Regions from separate parts of the Homo sapiens genome. Here all the other regions are linked to region 2. The links are contacts of gene promoters, found by promoter capture Hi-C in human tissues and cell types (Jung and others, 2019). All regions are on one chromosome and are shown on one strand. Each heading gives the region's core, a stretch centred on a gene start or on the middle of the fragment in contact. The rest is flanking DNA. Distances are from core to core; before and after follow the strand shown.

What was found. Contacts are between HindIII fragments. The study calls those that stand out against the background at their distance.
Region 1: a contact is called between a fragment that was not itself captured here and the fragment with the promoter of NDNF in region 2, in 1 of the 25 tissues and cell types used here (aorta).
Region 3: a contact is called between a fragment that was not itself captured here and the fragment with the promoter of NDNF in region 2, in 3 of the 25 tissues and cell types used here (H1 embryonic stem cells, heart left ventricle and psoas muscle).

The regions. Positions count from the first base shown.
Region 1 is chr4:121,117,691-121,120,390 of GRCh38, reverse strand. No RefSeq gene overlaps it. Among named protein-coding and RNA genes, the nearest start is that of TNIP3, 45 kb to the left of the region's middle. The HindIII fragment of the contact is 3,345 bases long and covers 1-2,700 here.
Region 2 is chr4:121,071,157-121,073,856 of GRCh38, reverse strand. NDNF (neuron derived neurotrophic factor) reads left to right here and starts at 1,322. Exons shown (of 4, transcript NM_024574.4): 1 at 1,322-1,864. NDNF-AS1 (NDNF antisense RNA 1) reads right to left here and starts at 2,495. Exons shown (of 3, transcript NR_187407.1): 1 at 2,277-2,495; 2 at 1-107. The HindIII fragment of the contact is 5,612 bases long and covers 1-2,700 here.
Region 3 is chr4:121,028,637-121,031,336 of GRCh38, reverse strand. No RefSeq gene overlaps it. Among named protein-coding and RNA genes, the nearest start is that of NDNF-AS1, 41 kb to the left of the region's middle. The HindIII fragment of the contact is 4,458 bases long and covers 1-2,700 here.

The DNA.
Region 1 (2,700 bases), core at 48-2,547, 47 kb before region 2:
TCTATTTTGGATCTTACTGTTTGTCAATATCATTTATTAGAAGTTTCTTTCATTTTCAGAAAACTATACTGTATGTACAGTGATGGGTGATGAGAAAGAAATAGAGATATTTCCTACGTTTTCTATTGTCAGAGGAAAATTATTAGCAGCCATGAGACGATGCAATGAAGCAAAGGGAGACTGAAGCTCCTTTTAATTTTCGATATATTCCTTGGTCTTTCAGCGCCTCTAGTAGTCTTGCCCTCATTATATAAAACACAGTAGTAAAGCTGTCACAATTTGGCAGTTTAAATTAGAGAAAAATATTGAAATTACATTAAATTTATATAAATGGTCCCAAAATATCTTAATTTATGGTAAGCAATTAGAAGTACCTTATTTCTTAGTAATGTACTTGCACTTTAAAAAAATACATCAAAGTACTACCATATCTAGGGTTAGTTAGAATGTAGCAATGGCACATTCAAGGAGTCTGCCTCTCTGAGAGTTTATCTTTCAATTTTGAAATTCTGAAGATTTATCAGTTTCGTATTCTACAGGCCACAATTCAAAGTTGAGGACCACTTGAGTCAGAAGTGTTTACTTTTGAAAACTAAGAGCATTTTGCCTTTTGGCCATTACACAAAATCCTTTTTATAATTTTCATTTTGCAGTTCTGAAGAATTTTAAGTAAAACTCTGATTCCAGTGTTTTTAAGATTATCTCCTTTAGAAAAGCAAATTATATCACTTAAGGAGAAGCTAAATCACAAATGTGGTTATAGAGTTAGCAATCTAGCAGAATGACAGCTTTTGATCTCATATTATAGTTTTTAGGCATCCTGATGAAGCCTAACTTACATGTTAACATAGAGAAATTTGGAAGGTCTGACAATATTTCAGAGTAAATTAGCTTCAGGAATGTTCCTGATATTAAGGCCTGCAAAGCACCTACAATTTTCAAGAGACAATCAGGCTGTCAATCAGTTTTCACAAAATATGCATCTCAGATCCTAAAAAAATGGAAGTACAAATATGTCAAAAATATACTTGAAACTGTTGTTTAAGTGACAGGAAATTACTGATAGGAAGTATATACTCCAAGTGTTCTTTCCTTTGTAGCTAAATCTGTGAAAACTTTTATAAATCTCACAATTTTAAAACAAACGTTCTACTTTGTCTAGTAAATCCTAATTTAACGTATTTGTTCAATTCTAAGTATACCATAAAATAGTCAGATGGACAATTGAAGTATCCTAACAGAAATTTAACAGTGAAAGAACTAAGCTTATGATAAAAAGAAATTTCTTCAGATAACTTTCTGAAAGTGTTTTTGCACCTATAAACATGACATCTAAGTGCATTTCAGATTCTTTATAAAAGATATCCAAATTCACTACTAAGAATATGGCAGCTTGGAAAAGTTAGCAACAGCCAGACAGGTGTGGCATTTTCATGTTCTTGCACTGTGGATTGCTAGAATAAGAAACTGAACTCAGAATGTAATAAGCTTAAAAACAAATTCTTTTTCTCCTCCTCTCATCTAAGCTGGTCTTTTCACAATCTCCTGTTTTCACAAGTGTCTGGAAGTAGGAGGAAGAGGGAGTAGGCAGAAAGAGGGAAGGTAGGAGGTTGATTGGTGAGGTGGAGAAAGGAAGACATCAAAGAGCAGTCATCACCTGTCACTCTGAGCAAAACCAATTAGCTTCATTCATTGGGAACCCCAGGAATATCGCAGCCAGAAACCAGCCTTAGTGTCAATGTCTTTGAAGCATCGAAGCCATCTTTGGTAAATTAGCAGCCACTCTAGCTGCATCATGACCCTCAACCAGGCCAGCAGAGAACACTTTTCTGAAAATTGCCATGCTCTTCCTGGAATAAGAGTCATTAAGTTGTTTTCTTGAGTTTCTGGATCTTAGCACATAGTTCACAGCAGAAGAAGCTTCTCTGTACAGTATTCTTCAATTGCATCAAATCAGCTCCAATAGCCCACAAGGGAAAGGGGCTTGTCTTTGCTTTGTTATGCTCCTGACATTCATCAAAATCACTACATTTGTTTTTTGCTCTTCACAAACTTTCCTAAGATGAAAAGATGTTTTTCCTTCTTCCTTTTCCACTGGCTATCACTGCCTTGGGTGTTTTGAAGATTACACTTCACGTGGAACTCCTCTTATTGATCCAGAACCAGTGATGTTGGACTGCACGGCCCTCACAGGGCCAGGGATGCATCACTGAGCCTTCCACATGGAAACAGTATCCCTCTGTGGCCAGACTGGCTCCCAAAAGTGAGGGAGAAGTCCCATAAAGTTTTGCAGAAAAAATATTGTGAACCAATGTACTTGCCAAAATCTTGTAACATGCGTGAATGCTCTCTCTCTCTCTGTCACACACACACACGCACACACACACACACACACACACACACACACACACACACTGTATATAGGAGCTCAGAAAATATATCACTCATGTGAAGTTCTAAAAAAAAATGTTTTGAAGATACATTGTAGCTGAAGAACATATTATAGATGGAATAGATGGTAAATTAAAAATATAAAACCCTAGTGGCTCACGCCTGAAATCCTAGCATTTTGGGAGGTGGAGGCAGGCAGATCACTAGAGGTTAGGAATTCAAGAGCAGCTTGGCCAACATGGTGAAACCCCATCTCTACTAAAAATACAAAAAAAAAAAAAATAGCCAGGCATCGTGGTGCACACCTGT
Region 2 (2,700 bases), core at 73-2,572:
CAGCAGGGACTTCGTAAGCTTTGTTAATGAATGACCCAGGGATCTGCTCTAGATCGTATCTCCTAAGTGGAGATACAATGAGGACTTTTCTCACCTCATTGTCTCATCTGCAAAAAATATGCTTGCACAGTGATCTGAAATGTCCTTTTCAGTGTTTAAAAATTTTACAAAACTATTTTATGTCGTGTAAACGGTTTTATAAATCCATTTCCTGCAGTGTTTTCATCTAGGAACCACAAAACTTTAGGAGCTGCATTGGTCCACCCTCTGTGACCAACTGTTTAGCAAAAAAGATCATAGTTCTTAATATGACCGGGATAAGGCTGATTTTCATCCTACCTACCTTAATTTCATTGTGGCAATAACAGAACTAGTGTTTTCAATACTGACACTATATCTTAATAAATAATTATATATTATTAGAACTTATATAAAACCAGGTTTGCTGGAAATCAGGTTCTCAGTTGCAAAAATGAGATCACCAAATCATTCGGTACTTTTTTTTTCTTGGTTTTCCTAAGCCCAGGCCAGGTTGCTAATTAGGTAACTTTTTATCATAATTACCTAGTCAGCCTTAATGGCTTCACACACTCTGCTCCGTTTCACTGGTCCTGTAGGGCCGCTTTTTCAATTGTTAAAACAGCTGCTGAGTTTCAAATCGGAGGAGGCTCGGTCTGCGCCGAGGGGGAAGCGCTCCCTGAGTGAAGGCTGTGATAGGCAGGCGTTCGGGTGAAAAGTGGGACATGAATGCACAGTTTGCACACTCTGCTTTCCGCCTCCAACCACCAACCTTCTGGATTTAACACGTCCCCCTCCCTGCCCCCAGATCAACCCCAGAGTTTCCCTCTATTGTGCACCCCGGTCTGCTTGACAGTGTGATGGTCCCGCGTGCGCGTCTCCTGGGTTTTGCAGCTTTGTCGGGGGCTCGGTGGGCCTCCTTCATTCTCCCCGAGTGGCGCTAAGGTTAGGACAGCAGCGTGTCCCTCGCGATGCCGCCCGCGAGGGTCCTGTTTGGGGAGCGCTGGGTCGCTGAGCAGGGTGGTGTGTGTGTGAGAGAAAGAGAGGGAGGGAGGGCTACAGGGAGAGAGAAAAGGAGGGAGAGGGTGTCTGTGTGTGAGTGTGTGTATGTGTATGAGTGTGTGTGTGTGTGTGTGTGTGTGCGTGCGCGCTGGCGCGCAGCGGGAGGGAGAGAAGGAGGGACGGAGGGGGAGGCAACGGGCAGAGGAGGGAGGGGGCGGGCGGGCAGCGGTGAGGCGGGAGGGGTTAGGGCTGGGAGGGGAAGAGACTCCGGGCTTCAGCAGTGACACTCGGGAGCGAACACACACTCCCCACTTCCAGCCGCGAGAGAGTGGAGCTAACTGAGCAGCGCACCCGCCACGGCCGCTGCCGCCCCGTGCGCCCGGCTCTCCCAGCACCCCGCGCGGCGCTCCAGCCAGGCGCCTGTGCGACTAGCGGCGGCCGGCGAAGCCCGCGCCAGCCCCGCGGGTCGCTGCGGCATCCTCCCGCCGCCCAGCCCCCGCACGCTCCCTGCAGTTTAAAAGGACCTCCCGCCGCTTCTCGGCGCTGCCCCGGGATTCCCCAGCCCCGCGCGGCTCCCTACTCCACTTCGCAGCAACTTCGGCGACCGCGCGCCGCCCGCCCTCGCCCGCCTTTGAAGTTTGCTGTGCCGACCGCAAAGTTGGGACACTTCAGCGGATTGAATTTTTCTCTTTTATCTGCCTCCGTCCCCGCCCTCCAGGCTTCTCGTTCCTGGATATTGGTGCTTAGCATCTTGGCAGGGTCCGGGGACGTGGACTATTTCGCACACCACACCACGGGGAGGGATTTTTTTCTATTTTCCCTACGAAAAACAGATCTTTTTAAGGTAAGTGGGGAGAGGAAAGCAATGCCCCAGAGACCCGACGCCTTAGCCCGCCACCCTGAGACCTAGCACAAGGAGCGTTCACGCCCGAAGGGTCATCCGAGATGGGGGCTCGAGGCACGCGCCCCCAAATCTTCAAGGCCCAAGAAGCTTCTCAAGGGCGCCCTATCCGTAGGAGCTGAGGGCATGAGGGGCAGGAGCAGGTTTCCCTCGTTTTTTTTTTTTTATTGTTGTTGTTGTTTGTTTGTTTGTTTGTTTTTAATTTAGCTGCTTTCGAAGCTGGGCGGCCCGGAGAGATGTGAGGAGGTGGACAGACAGCGCAAGGGCGGGGAAGACCTGGGACCCGGGAGCTCGGGGTGCAGTGGGGTCTGGGGAGCCGCGGAGCCTTTATCCCGGACTTAGCCTGGACACTTACTTTGCCCGCCTGCCAAGAGGGCTGTTGCCTCCCTTTCCAGGTTCATGCCCTCCGCCCGCCGCTAGGGAAAGTCTGCGGGACTGGGGTTTTGCAGAGGGCGTCTGCGTGTAGGGCGAAAAGCTAGAGGTCCAGGCAGCGCACGAGTTCTTGGTGGGCGTCTGGGAGCTGCGCAGCCGGGGCCGGGAGTTCGGTTGGCCCGACCCCCAACCGCTCTGGCTCCTCATTTGTCCTCTGCGTGGTAGGCGAGCATCGTTATAGAAACTTCCTTGGGCTGAGCGAGGTGGCCTGGGACCGGCTCATACTTTCTTCCGGAGAGCAGAGCGGCCACCGAGGTGACGCCCCCTACGGCCCCAGCCAGGAGACTCGGCTTCGTGCCCTCGTCCTGTCTGTGCGTGAGTTGGGGTTCGCTCTCACCCGCGCTACC
Region 3 (2,700 bases), core at 58-2,557, 43 kb after region 2:
AAAACCCAAAATGCCCATATTTAATTATAACTCTGACAGTAGTGTGTTTCTGAGAAAAATTGTTTATAATAAACAGAACCAAGTGTATGAATACATCATAGGCATAGAAGTCTGACTGACTGTTCATTCTCATCTTTTCCTATAAAATGAACTCAGACCTATTTAAATAGGATTAATATATTAGTTCCTTTCACCATGCAGGCCTGATAATTTCCACATTGCCAGACCAACAAACAGTTTTTGGAAGAAGCATGCCACCCTCAAGAACCACTGGTAAATGTCTCACAGGCATCTGAATTTGTCTGACCTGGTTTGCGCTCTGTGGGTCCATATGGCTGAAGTAACAAGATTGTGGCTCAACTAATGTCACAGTTATAACAATAGACATAGATTGCTACATGAGCAGTTTGGTAACAGCAACTGATCTAGTCACAAATATGGCCCATTTCCAATGGTTGAGTTTCCGTGTATCACAGTAGCTACAGTAGCTTCAGCAACATTTGATGTTTCCAGCTCTTCTGGATGTGGTAAGAACTTTAAGTGAGAGGGACAAACAAGCATACTTACATGTTTTAAATAACCAAATAAAATTCAACCAGTTTTATTATGGTAAAATATAACTTTAAAAACATTTTTAAAGAAATAGCAGATTCTTGGTTGACTATTTTAAAAGAGTAATATTGAATATCTCCTTCCTGCTGAATAAAGCTTGTCATTCTTCTTCAAATAAAGAGGTCAAGCTGTAAATTACAGCTTGCGGAATTTTGCCTTCTATTATGCACAGGATCCCAGGTTCTGTTGGGTTGTCCTGGGGTGATCATCAGGTATGGAAAAAGATAAAAGAGATATGAAAGCTGGGTAAGAATCACAACATTTACATCTAAATTGAATTTTGTGCAAGTTCCATTGACTAATGGCAGAGAGCTGTGCTTCAAATACAGCTGTGGTCTGAGCAAACTTGGCTGCTCTAAATACTGAATGCCAGTTCCTTTGCCAATTCCATGGGCAAGCATTCCAGGAGGCTTGAGTTAAAATGTGCAGATAAATACTCAGTTCTGGAGTTTTTTGGTGCCAAAGCATACAAAATACTTATGTTCTGCTATGGAAATACTGGAAGAACAGAACTTCTGTTTTTAATATCTCTGAGGATTTAAAACAGTTCTTAGACTACTTATTACCTTTCATAAAACTCACTCCTACTTTAAAAGTCTCTTGGTGGCTTACCTATATTAAAAAGAGGAAAAGAATTCTTTTTGATTCTGCTGAGTTTTCTCTTCTCTATTGAAGTTAAGCAAGCTAATAAGAGGACAGCAGAGGAAAGAGTGCAGAAGTGGGACTTTGGGCATTTTCTTAAACTTCTGTGGGCTTGAGCTTTCTCATTTGTAAAATGAGAAGGGTGATGATCTCCTAGATTCCTTTTTGGAGAAGCAGGGAAACTAACAACCTTTAAGCACATACTGAGTGCCAAGCATTTGAAATACCGTTATTTAATCCTTGTAACAACCCTGAGATGGAGACATTATTGTATTCTCATTAAGCAGAGGAGGAACCCAAAGAACAAAGAAATTATATAATGTGCTCAAGGTCACAAAGTTAATACAAGATGGAGCTGGAATTTAAACACAGATACATCTGGTACCAAATGAATGCGTTTTTCCACATCCACCTGTATGCTTGTGAGTTCTAGTGCTACTTAGTGAATCTCACCAGAATAGAATACATGACAAGTCCCTTACTAAAACTGGAGAAAGTCAAAGTATATTAAAGCTTGGCCTGCATATTTATAAACAAGTTTTCTCTGACATAGATAAATATCAAGCATTAGGGACAGAAGACGAATAATTGACAAAGTATTGCTAAGTTGCTCTTATTGTGTAGAACTTTCCCATTTTAATGGTGACTCATACTACCATAAAAACTTTGTTTGGTATTTGTTTGTGTCTTATTATATAGAGTTTGATGTAATGCTTACATATGGCATAATGTGTCTTTAATATGATGTTAATAAACCTTTATTTAATGCTTTTGTTTTTTAGCATATAAAGAGTTGTCTGTGGTTGTCTTTGTTTTTGTTTCTGCTTTGCCCTTGCACATGTTTGACTTCTGTTATCATTTTTTAATAGCAGATGTTTACTGGGCCTTCATTAGATACCACATCCTGATATGATAGTTATAGCCTGAGCTGAGGCATCTCTTTAATCCACATAACAACCTTATGAAGTAGACACTGTTGATTTTCCACATTTTACTGATGAAGAAACCAAGGGTCAGAGAAGTTAAGTAACTTCCCCAATTTCATGCAGCTAGTATGGGGTGCAGTTCTGTGTCCAATTCAGGGTTTTAGATAACGCCAGTGCAGGAAGGGATGATACTTATTTACTGCCTTTGGGAAAGATCCTCTGACTGCTTTCCAAGGAACTCATCGGCACAAATCTACTTTTAAAGTTTGTTAGACTTGTGTTCGTTCTACAAAGCACTTGTTTTGATGGCACATCAGATACTTACTATTGACATTCTTGTGATTTGCTTTATTACACTTTTGTTTCTATATAAATTTTTCCTCATGTACTTCAAAGTGAAGGAGTTCACACAGCCACTTCCACAGTCCCAGGCTGAGAGCTAGTGATCTTCATGTCCTGCATGGGAAAGGAGCGGGCTGATGACAGGATTCAGGTAGCATCAGCAGGGCTTGTTTGGTTG